2 separate regions of the Homo sapiens genome follow, and region 1 is linked to region 2. The links are contacts of gene promoters, found by promoter capture Hi-C in blood cells and fetal thymus (Javierre and others, 2016). All regions are on one chromosome and are shown on one strand. The core of a region is centred on a gene start or on the middle of the fragment in contact, and the rest is flanking DNA. Distances in the headings are between cores, read along the strand shown.

The links. Contacts are between HindIII fragments. The CHiCAGO score rates a contact against its expected background, and 5 or more counts as called.
Region 1: a fragment that was not itself captured here is called in contact with the fragment with the promoter of DEFB1 in region 2 in 1 of 17 cell types (monocytes); the score reaches 6.9 in monocytes.

What each region holds. Positions count from the first base shown.
Region 1 is chr8:6,421,203-6,427,204 of GRCh38, forward strand. The region is part of intron 3 of MCPH1 (microcephalin 1); the gene reads left to right. Among named protein-coding and RNA genes, the nearest start is that of MCPH1, 18 kb to the left of the region's middle. The HindIII fragment of the contact is 247 bases long and covers 4,151-4,397 here.
Region 2 is chr8:6,874,625-6,880,968 of GRCh38, forward strand. DEFB1 (defensin beta 1) reads right to left here and starts at 3,312. Exons shown (of 2, transcript NM_005218.4): 1 at 3,173-3,312. The coding sequence starts at 3,233. The HindIII fragment of the contact is 13,732 bases long and covers 534-6,344 here.

The sequences.
Region 1 (6,002 bases), core at 3,024-5,523, 450 kb before region 2:
GGCGTCTGCATTCAGTTAACACTTTAGCACAACAGGTGTGGACTGTCAGGAAATGGCCTCTCCCTGGCTCTGGCTGCCAATTTATCACTTTTAGAGAGGCAATGTGATAATTGTTGAGCTATCACCCAACATTCCTAGTGGGTGGTAGAGGCCTCTCCTGCCGGGCTTATGCCTAACTACCTGTAATACTTCAACACATGGATCAGCTTTATCCTTCTGACAAAATGGCTTAGAGTTCAGTGGTCTATAGCAGAGAATGGCCAACTATCATCCCCCAGCCAAATCCACCCTGCCATACTGTTTATTTTTTTTTAATGGCCCATGAGGTAAGAATGGTTAAGAGAAAAAAAAAATTCAAATGTTTACTATTTCATGATATTTACATTATATGAAATTCAATTTTAGTATCCATAAATACCGTTTTATTGGAACACAGGCATGTTCATCTGACGATGTAGTCAGTGGCTGCCTCTGTACTACAGCTGTAGATTTGGATCCTGTGGCAGAGACCTTACGGCCCACGAAGCCTAAGGCATTCACTACTTTCCCCTTTACAGAAGTTTGCTGACCCAGGTCCAGTGTGCTGCATGATGGTCCCCTTCCCTTCCATTGTCAGCTGCTCCCCTCTCCCTTGTTTGCGTCTTCCAAATGCTCTGGGCTTCCACGTCCCCAAGGCTACACTCTTTCTGCCTTTAGTTCTTGGCCTGTGCTGAGAACTCTGCCCCGTCTTCCTGATTCTAAACCCAGTTTTGTAGTCAGCTCCTTTATACATGTTGCATTGCAAGGTCGCTTTATCAGAAGAGCTTCCTCTGTCCCCAGTTCACAGTTCAAGCCCTATTTGTTATTCTCTGTCTCAGCTCCTTTTTTCCTGTGTGTACTATTAAAACTTATTTTGTTCATTTGACTGCTTTATCTGTCTGTGTATCTAATCATGCATTTTGTCTTTCTATTGTAATGTGGATTCCAAGAGCAGCTACCTGTCTGTCTTATTTATGGTTGTGTTTCTAGTAAGTCTAACATTCATCTGGCTCATAGTAGATGCTCAGTAAATATTTGTTCTAACAAATTATGAACAAAGGAAAATTTAGTTAAGTGGCGTAGAGATACTAGAGAAAATATCATGGGGGAAAATGATTTGAAAAAAAACTACATTTTAAAAGTCGTATAGAAATGTGGAGGGGAGAGTGCAGAAACAGAGACCTTTACTAGAAGCTTGAAGTAAATGGAGATGCATGGACAAAATTAAAATAGTAGCCATTTCTGTACCTAATAGGGCCTCTCAGCTAACCCTACAATGGGGATGGTCACTGGTAGTGTGTTCTGCTGAGAGTTAGGGATTCTTACTCTGCTTTGCTGGCCCAGCCCCTGACTCATTCTCTATCCCCTTTCTCTCTCTCTCTATTTCTGCCCACCACTAACCCCAGCCTTTCTCAAGGGGCTCATGCAGACCCCATAATACTTGTAACTTCGTTATCCAAAAGCAAAGTTTTCTTTTTCTTTTCTGGAGACTGAGTCTCACTCTCTTGCCCAAGCTGGAGTGCAGTGGTGCGATCTCGGCTTACTGCAACCTCCGCCTCCTGGGTTCATGCCATTCTCCTGCCTCAGCCTCCCGAGTAGCTGGGACTACCGGAGCCCGCCACCACGCCCGGCTAATTTTTTGTGGTTTTAGTAGAGACGGGGTTTCACTGTGTTAGCCAGGATGGTCTCGATCTCCTGACCTTGTGATCCGCCCTCCTCGGTCTCCCAAAGTGCTAGGATTACAGGCGTGAGCCACTGTGCCCGGCCAATTTTTATATTTTTAGGAGAGACAGGGTTTCACCATGTTGGCCAGGCTGGTTTAACTCCTGACCTCAGGTGATCCGCCCACCTTGGCCTCCCAAAGTGCTAGGATTACAGGTAAGAGCCACCGTGCCTGGCAAAAGCACACTTTTAAGGTCCTCAGAAGCTCAAAAGTGAACTTAATCTTTTGGCATTTTTCTTTTCTTTTCTTTTTTTTTTTTTTTTTGAAACTGAGTCTCGCTCTGTCGCCCAGGCTGGAGTGCAGTGGTGCAATCTTGGCTCACTGCATTCTCCTGCCTCAGCCTCCTGAGTAGCTGGGACTACAGGCGCCCGCCACCACGCCTGGCTAATTTTTTTGTATTTTTAGTAGAGACGGGGTTTCACCGTGTTAGCCAGGATGGTCTCCATCTCCTGATCTTGTGATCCGCCCGCCTCGGCCTCCCAAAGTGCTGGGATTACTGGCATGAGCCCCTGCGCCCGGCCCATACACTTTAGTCAACTTTTTATTACAGGTCATTTTTTTGCCTGTACATGCAGATGCATCCCACTTTATATATATAAGAATATTTTGTAGTAGCTGTCCAGTAATTTATGTAAGCAGTGTCCTATTGGTGATTGAAGTTTTTCATTTCTTAGTTATTTTTTTCAATTAGAAATATTACAGCATTGAGCTTCTGTATGTATTACCTTTTTGCGGGTGATAAATCTTTCCATAGGTTTAAATCCCCAAAGTGGGCTGTTCATTTCTGAGAGTTTACATATTTAAATATGATAGATGCTGCCAAATTATCTTCTGGAAGGAGTGTACTGGTTTCCATTCTCACTGGAATTATCAAAAAAATGCATGTTTCCCAATACCTTTGCTAATGTTGTGAGTTATCAGTTCTTCTTTCTAATTTGTAGAAGAAAAATAATAGTTTTTATTTGCATTTCTCTGACTTTTAGTGAGCTTGAATTTTCTTCAGCAGAGCATAGAGATAAGAGCCAAACTGACCTGCATTTTTTATGTCACGTCTGTCCTTTCTTGGTGAACTGCCTGCCTTTCCAATGCAGTAGCTCATGGTTTCCACTGAAAATGTGAACATTAACTTCATAAGGTCACTAGGTGTCACTAGAATCCCATTCTGTTGGGTTCCTTCTGGGAGTGTTCATTTTAAGATCAGATGGCAATTGATAAAATTCTGACATTTCCTTTGGATGTAGAAATTTTTACCTTGAAGAAAGAATACATAAAGTTGAAATAAAGGTCAGCTTGGCCCCCACTCTAAGTTCTGTTGAAGACAATTTATCATTTTTAAACAACTGCAAACTAACAGCTAGGTGGGGAATACGGTTCACAGGCTTTGTCCTTGCTAGGCTGAGAGTTGGTTGCTGACCGAAGGCCATCACCCCCTGCATTTAGTGTTTGCTGGAAACAGGGACATATTCCTGCATAACCACAACACAGGCCGACATTAGGGGCTTACCACGGCTCCTTTCCTCCCGGAATCCTCAGACTCCATTCCTATCCTACCAGCAGCCAGCTCCACTTCCCGCCTCCTCAGCCTTCTCACCCTGCAGCCATTCCTTAGTCTTTCACTGGCTTTTGTGACTTTGACACTGTTTAAGGTCACTGACCAGTGATAGGAACGTCCCTCAGTTTGGAACGGTCTGATGTGTCCTCCTAATATCACATCAATGTGTAACAGTGGATGTGTAGCCATTTAGGACTGGGCAAATTACTCAACTGCTGGGCTCTAGGTTCCTCCAGTAGCTCCTGAGTTAACTTCCTACGGTTATTTAGTGCTAGACCACAGAAGTTCGCTCTCTGCTGGCAGAGCACTGTTGTGCAGACTTCTCTGAGTCTCCTGTGTTCTTCCTTGTGTGTCAGGGACACACGTGAAGGATAGCGTGCTTCGCGGCTGGAATCTTCAAGGAGATGCCATTCACTTTTTTACCTCACTAACACAGTGCCGTTTACAAAAAAGATTAATGTACTTTTCCTGAATTGACTTACTGACTGGGCCTAGAGAATAAGATACTGGTGCTGGGCAGTTTGGCACAAGAGTAGCATAAAGAATGCAGGATTGGCCCAGGTGAAGGCATCGTCCTAAGGGTAGAATGAGAGTCGGTGGTTCCTGGCCGACCTAGCAGGTGTACTGTGGGAAGTGCTGGAGTGAATCGGCTCTCTGGGGAGAATAAGCTCATCACAGCACGGCTTCCCGAGGAGAACGTTGCTGCTTTGATTTCTGTTGGCTCTGAGGCAGCAGCAGGTCAAATAGTTGGTTCTCTGTTTAGAGACATCTCTTGAAACACTTTTCGTTTTGACCACTAGATGGTGGGATAATGTTATCATTTTACATTTCTGAAGAAAAATAGAAATCTAACTGGAAGCTTTTTTGTCTGTTCAGTAGATTTTGGTTGGACCCCTGGTAAACATGGGTTTCAGTGTAGCAGCTTTAATGTGTTACCACGTGTGCTAAAGCATAGCTGTTGGCATGCAGAACGGCATTACCAGCAGTAAGTGCCACTTACTTCTTCATAGTGAGTGATGATAGTTACACCCAGGTAGATGAAATTCAGGGAGAGCATCTCTGTGCACCTTACATCTTATCACTCTGAAGGATATGTGGTTGGGAAGCTTCTCCCAAAGGAACAGAACACATCTTCCACAACTGTATAACCTATGTCAGGCACACGTTTTCCTGGGTTGAATCAAGCCCTTCCTTAAACTGCTAACTTAAAGAATACTTACTGGTTTTGTAAAGTTTGGCAAATGATCTTCTCTGCTCCTCGGTTTTCTGTGTTGTGCAATAGGAGGCAATGGTAGTGGCTTTTCCAGCACGGTTGGTGTGAGGCTTCTCATGAGCTGGGTGACCTTTGTCCTGATGATGGTGGTGATTTTAATACTGTGTATTTGATAACACGATTATCTAGGGTCTCCTCTACGTCTTTCGTCCAGATGCATCTCAGCCACCCCCCTTTTGCTGTTCCCTTAGGCATAATAGTGGTAAATCGGTGACATTTTGCTTGAGTAAGAAGAAGCTGCTAAAAACTTCTCATGCTTAAAATTGGTAATTAAGGGGACTTTTTAAAAAGAAGCACAGTTAAAAAACATTTCCTTCCTCGTTCTCTTCCACCCGCCTCCCTTTCCCATCACTTTTATTAGATACAGCATTCTGCTCACCCCATTATTGCAGGCTCAGATAGTTGGTTTGTTTTTTTAAAATCAGCTTTATAAAAACATTTACATAAAATAAAATGGACCCATTTTAAGTGTACATTCACGGGTTTTTTGTGTATACCTGTGTCACCACCACAACCAAAATACAGAGCATTTTCATCACCCCAAAATCTCCTTCGTGTCCATTTGCTGTCGGCCTCCCTGCCCCCTCCTCCCACCCCAGGGCAGCCACAGATCTGGTTTCTGTCATTAAAGATTAGTGTCACCAATTCTGGGGCTTCAGATCAGTGGAATCATCCAGCGTGTACTATTTTGTGCCTGACATCACTGAAGGTGATGTTTTTGCGATCTGTCCGTGTTGTTTGTAGCAGTGGTTTCACTTCCTTTTATAGCTGAGTAGTATTCTATTGTAGGCATGTAGCTTGGTGCCACCAGTTGATGGAGATTGGGCTAGTTTGCCATTTTAGGTTATTATGAATAAAGTTACAATGGACATTTACATTTGTGTCTTTGTATGCTTTCATTTCTCTTGGGTCATTACCCAAACTTTTCCAAGGTGGTTATGGCACTGTATATTCCCACCAGCAGTGTTCCTTTCACTCCACGTCTTCACCAATAGTTGAAATTTATCCATCTTTTGAATTTTAGCCATTCAAGCAGATGTGTAGTGGTATTTCATGGTTTTTTTTTTCCCAACATTGTTTTAAGATCTAATTCATATGCTACACAATTTGTCCAATTAAAGTATACAATTCAGTGGTTTTAAATATACAGTCAGGTATTGCTTGACGACAGGGATGCCTTCTGAGAAACGAATAGGTGATTTTGTTGTTGTGGAGACATCACAGTGTGTATTAACACACACCTGCATGACATAGCTACTGCACACCTAGGCTCTGTGGCACAACCTGTTGCTCCTAGGCATAAACCTCTACAGCATGTGCAGTTGTGAAACAGTGGTAAGTATTTGTGTCTCTGAAATACTTAAACATAGAAAAGGTAGAGTAAAAATATGGTATAAAAGATAAAATATGGTACACCTACATAGGGCGTTTACTAT
Region 2 (6,344 bases), core at 2,062-4,561:
ATGGAGAATTGATGTAGAATAGTAGTGGCTCAGCAGAACAGTGGGGAAAAATAGTCTTATCAACAGTTGGTTCTGGGCTGGGCATGGTGGCTCATGGCTGTAATCCCAGCACTTTGTGAGGCAGAGGCAGGCAGATAACTTGAGGTCAGGTATTTGAGACCAGCCTGGCCAACATGGTGAAACCTGCTCTCTACTAAAAATACAAAAATTAGCCAGGTGTGGTGACAGGCGCCTGTAATCCCAGCCACTCGGGAGGCTGAGGCAGGAGAATCCCTTGAACCTGGGAGGGAGGGGTTGCGGTTAGCCAAGATTGTGCCACTGCACTACAGCCTGGGTGACAGAGCGAGACTCAGTCTCAAAAAAAAAAAAAGTTGGTTCTGGACAATCAGATATTCATATTGGGGAAAAAAAGTAACTTGACCGTTACTTCATACCGAAGCCACACACACACACACACACACACACACACACACACACACACACACCCCATTGCCAGATGGATTGTAAGTCTAAATGTAAAAAGAAAAAGGATAAGCTTTTAGAAGACAATATTGGGGACTATCTTCATGTCTTTGATGTAAAGAAAGTCTTCTTAAACAAGATAGAAAGTGCAGTAACCTTACGGAAAAAGACATGACACATTCGACTACATTGAAATCATGATAAAAGCCTCTTTTCTAGGAAAGTTTCCATTAAGAGAGTGAAAAATCAAAACACAAAGCAAGAGAAGATATTTGTGATGTATATAATTGACAAAAGGCTTGCATAGAAAATACATAAAGAACTACAAACCAATAAGAAAAGACAGATAATCCAAAAGAAAACATGGACAAAAGACAAACAGGTATTTTACAAAAAATAACCCAGTTGCCTGTAACTATGTATAAAAGGGCCCAACTTATTATTTATCAGGGAAATGCAGATTAAAACTCCAGTGAGCTATTGCTACACTCACCAGGTGGTTAAAATTTAAAAATAATTGATGTTATCAAATGTTGGCAAGGATACAGAGCAAGAGGAACTCTTATTCACTGCTTGTGGGAGTGCAAGTTGGTGTAAATAATCTTGGAAAACAGTTTGGCATTGTCCAATACAATTGAATATATGCATAGCCTATGATCCGGTGATGCAACTTTTCAGCATGTAGAAATAGAGGCATAAGGGCACCTACTGGCCAATAGAAATGTGTGCACAAACCAAGCTGTACTATTCAACCTGAATATTAATTAGTGTGGCAAAAGTGTAAAGAATATGAAAAGTTACCACCATAAAAGTCAAGTGAGTGATTATTCTTGGGGGTAGGAGGGAGTTGTGACTGGGAAGGCTCGAGAATAGCTTCTCATAATTCAATTTAGATATAATAGACTGAAAACAAAAATTCTTTATGTTAACAAAGTGCCTTTCAAACCCTTTTGAGTTTGGACTGAACCACCATCAGAAAGAAATTTCTCACTGCTACTCAGTAAAAACATATGCACACACCCCAAACTGAAATATGGGTGTAATTAAATAGCATCTACTTTTACTACATGGCATGAAGTAATATTTTCTATTCCTTTAAAAAAACATGGGCTGGGCGTGGTGGCTCATGGCTGTAATCCCAGCACTTTGGGAGGCGGAGGCAGGCGGACCATGAGGTCAGGAGTTAAAGACCAGCATGACCAGCATGGTGAAACCCCGTCTGTACTAAAAAATACAAAAATTAGCCAGGCTTGGTGGCATGCACCTGTAATCCCAGCTAACTCAGGAGGCTGAGGCAGGAGAATTGCTTGAACCCAGGAGGTGGAGGTTGCAGTGAGCTGAGATTGTGCCATTGCACTCCAGCCTGGGTGACAGAGCAAGACTCCATCTCAAAAAAACAAAACAAAACAAAACAAAAAAACACGGTAGGCTGAGTGGAGTGGCTCATGCCTATAATCCCAGAACTTTGGGAGTCTGAACTAGGAGGGTTGCTTGTGCCCAGGAGTTTGAGACCAGCCTGGTCAACACAGTAAGACCTTATCTCTACGAAAAAATAAAAATAAAAAAATTAGCCAGGTGTGGTGGTGCATGCCTGTAGTCACAGTTTCTTGGGAGGCTGAGGTGGGAGGATGGCCTGAGCTCAGGAGGCAGAGGCTGCAGTGAGGCGAGATCACACCACTGCACTTTAGCCTGGGTGACAGAGTGAGACCCTGTCTCAAAAAAAAAGCAAAGCAAAAACAAAAACCAAAAACCAAAAACCAAAAAAAAAAACAAAAAAACAAAATCCATTGTAGCAACTGGCAGCATGAAAAGTTCTGCATTTAGAATGCTTTTGTACTCAGCTTTCAGATGGAAAAACTGAGGCATAATTGGAATAAATTAAGCCTATCTGCTGGATACAGTGATGGCCTAGAGAAACTTACAATAGGATCTTACAGAGACTTTCTGAACTGGAGTGCTTGCTTTCAGGATCATCCTTCCCAGCCCCTCATTCTGCAGATGAATAAACCAAGGCTTAGCACCATGTGACTCGTGTGAACAAGGATAGGGCTGGGATAAAACATGTTCCCGATTCCTCCTGCACGTCCCACCATCATGTCAGGGTCATGGCTGCTTTGGCCCAGAGAAGCTGACATACACCTGGCTCACAGGAAGCCCCCTCCTATTGACTGGGGAGACTGCTAACCTGGAGAATGTGGATGCATTTCTCAGGAGAGGGAGAGGACCGCCTGCCTGCACAGGAGGTGAGTCCAAGGCACCGGCTGAGCTGGCCTGATGGGTGGGGCGGCAGCACCTCACCTGTACCAGGGCACCCCAGGAGGCTGCACCCAGTGACGTGGGCTGAGGATGGGGCCGGCCCCTCTCTCTGCATAGGAAGCTGGCCTCTCAGTGTGAGGAGTCGTCTTGCAGGGGAAGCAGCAATCTCATCCACATAGGATACTGTCTACATGTCCAGGACAAGGATGCAGGCAGCTGCCTGTGACAAGCGCCATGACCCTGCCAGGCTCACTCCTTGGCGGCTCACAGACCCTGAAGGCTTGGCAGGGCTTGCCTGCTGCCTTCTGCCAACTGCAGGCCACTCAACCACGGGATGCTTTCCTGCTGCTTGTTCCTCGTCCCTTGGGACACGGAGGCAGCCATCCGAGACTCACATCAGCCCCATTGTCCCCAGCCCTGGGGATGGGAAACTCTTGCAGGTACCAGAGCTTACCTGAGGCCATCTCAGACAAAAGTAAGCAGAGAGTAAACAGCAGAAGGTAGGAAGTTCTCATGGCGACTGGCAGGCAACACCCAGGATTTCAGGAACTGGGGAGACGCTGGCTCCTTTGGAGGCTGAGCTGACAGAGGCTTCCAGAGGCTGGAGCGTCACTGTATTTATAAGACTGGTGGATTGCACAACCTCGTCGACGGAACTGAAGGGAGGTGCCACAGTCAAGGGTGAACTTCTAATCGCTAACCCCTGGTGTCATTTGCCCTGAGCAGTCAGCAGTCACATGGCACATTGTCTCCATCTGGCTGCCGCTGGATTTAGCTTTCAGCCTGGAGCCCTGGTGCCAGCTCCTCCTGTTTGGTTTTCTAGGTTAGGCAGTTCTGATGGGGTTTCTGGAACAGGCAGTTCACACTGGAGTCCCTCCTTCTGGATCACATGGAGGAGAGCCACAGGGAAGCTCTGAGCAGGGGGCCGCTCGGCTCTAAGCTGGTGTTGGCCTCTTTAGTTTGATTGTCTTCCTGCAAGACAAACTCAAACTTCACCCTCTTCCCTTGCAGAAGGAGAGCTGGTTGTAATGAAGTTTCTTCCTCTGGCCAAGGCTACCTTCTCATCTCTCCCCTTATGCAGAACACTCTCCTCGATGGACCAACTTTTCTCTTTTCCCACTAGACGTGTTCCTGGGACGTTTCCAAAGGGCACTCCTCAGAAAGTGAGCCCCCAGTGTGGCCCTTGGAGGGTGAGGGTCTGGGCCAGCCTGGGCCCACCCTGCAGAGCTACAACTGCCAGATTGGGGTGCTGTTAGCGACTCTCCAAGTATCCCTCAGGTTTTCCTTGATTCTAAAGATTTAAGAAACATTTTATTTATTACTGATTTTCATTGTAATTCTGTGAGCAGCTTTCCTGATGTCTCAGTGGCTTATTTGCAAGCAGCAGACGCTGGCTCTCGCTGACCAAGGAAGGGAAGAGTTTATTCGGAGGATATCAGGGTTGGTGGGGGGTGGTGGCATTGCTGGAGAACCCAGCTTGAGGCTCAGTTTCCAGGAATGACATCCACCCTACACTGTCACGGTGGTCCAATGAGAACCCCATACTGCAGCCACATGGCATGAGACACCCAGAGTGGAGTGACCCTCAGCCACTCTACCGCTGGCAGAATGCCATTCTGCACCCAAACATGAACCTGCCGTATACTCCCACTTCAACCCTGCCAGAGAAAGACAGAGAGAGATCCAGAAAGATGGACAAACAAAAACAGAGACAGAGGAAGAGACAGAGACATGCAGAGAGACAGTAGAGAGACACAGAGAAACAGAGAGATAGAAACAGACAGAGAGAGATGGAAATAGAGAGAGAGAGAGAGATAGAGAGAAATAGATTCAGAGAGACAGAAAGAAGGAGACAGAAAGATGCAGTGGGATCCTGTAGCTAGCTCATTGAGGCAGTTCACAAAGGGTGTTTGGGAGAAAACTTGGAAGAGGCTGAGCCATGCCTGACCTAGGAGCAGTGAGATTGTGGAAAGAGAAAAGAAAGAACCGAAACACAGCTTTCCTTGCTGGTGCTGGGTAAGACATGGCTCAGCCTCTTCCAAGTTCCTCCCAAACACCGTCTGTGAACTGCCTCAATGAGCTAGCTACAGTATTCTATCGGATCTGTTTCTGTCCCTTTCCTTCTGTCTTATTGAAGCCACACTATGATTCTTTGACCAGGCAATATAATCCTCATGTTAGAGAAGAAAAACACTGGGGTTCAGAGAATTGAAACAAATTGCCCAAGGTCACCCTGCTGGTAAATGGAAAACTGGTGTAATGGCCTGGAAAGCCTCATTCCCTAGCCTCTGTGCTGACCGCCTCCTGGGGAGGCTTCCAGGTTATTACACCAGGTGTGGGTTCAATAAGATTGTGAAAGAAAAATATCTCAGGCACCTTCAAGCTGGGAACTGCTTATTGCGAATCTGCCTCTTTTTCTATTCAAGTCATCTTTTTGCTCCCAGAGATACATGCGTATTTCGATTAACTTTTTTGGAAAGACTTATAATAAATTCAAAAGAATGCAACCGGTCAGGGCGCAGTGGCTCACGTCTGTAATCCTAACACTCTGGGAGGCCGAGGCGGGCAGATCGCCTGAGGTTAGGAGTTCGAGACCAGCCTGGCCAACATGGTGAAGCCCCGTCCTTACTAAAAATACAAAAATTAGCTGGGTGTGGTGGCACACACCTGTAATCCCACCTACTCAAAAGGCGGAGGCCGGAGAATTGCTTGAAACCAGGACACATTGGTTGTAGTGAGCCGAGATCGCACCACTGCACTTCAACCTGGGTGACAAAACCGCACTCCGTCTCAAAAATACAATAAAAAGAATGCAACTGTCTGTCTCTCACATACCTGTGACCTGGAAGCCCCCAGTGGTGGGGGCCTTGCTTTGAGCTGTCTCTGCCTTTCTGGACAGAACTATTGTACTTCTTATACATTGATTGATGTCTCATGTCTCCCTAAAATGTATAAAAGCAAGCTGTGCCTTGACCACCTGGAGCACATGTTGTTAGGATTTCCTGAGGCTATGTCAGAGGTACATCCTCAACCTTGGCAAAATAAACTTTTTAAATTAAATGAGACCTGTCTCAAATTTTGGGGGTTTACAAGATAATAAAGTAAAAAATCTCAGAATGCTGCCGGGCACCATGTGAGGTCCGATGGTGTCTGTAGATCCTGGGAGTGAAAGGAATCTAAACCCTGGAATCCTGATTTTCAGGACTGATGTTTTCTGCTCTGAACCTGGAAAACTTTTTTTCTAAATTTTATTTTTATTTTTTATTTATTTTATTTATTTTTTTATTATACTTGAAGTTCTAGGGTACATGTGCACAACGTACAGGTTTGTTACATATTTATACATGTGCTGTGTTGGTTTGCTGCACCCATTAGCTCATCATTTACATTAGGTATTTCTCCTAATGCTATCTGTCTCCCCTCCCCCTACCCCACAACAGGCCCCGGTGTGTGATGTTACCCACCCTATGTCCATGTGTTCTCATTGTTCAATTCACACCTATGAGTGAGAACATGCGGTGTTTGGTTTTTTGTCCTTGTGATAGTTTGCTCAGAATGGTGGTTTCCAGCTTCATCCATGTTGCTGCAAAGGACATGAGCTCATCCTTTTTCATGGCTGCATAGTA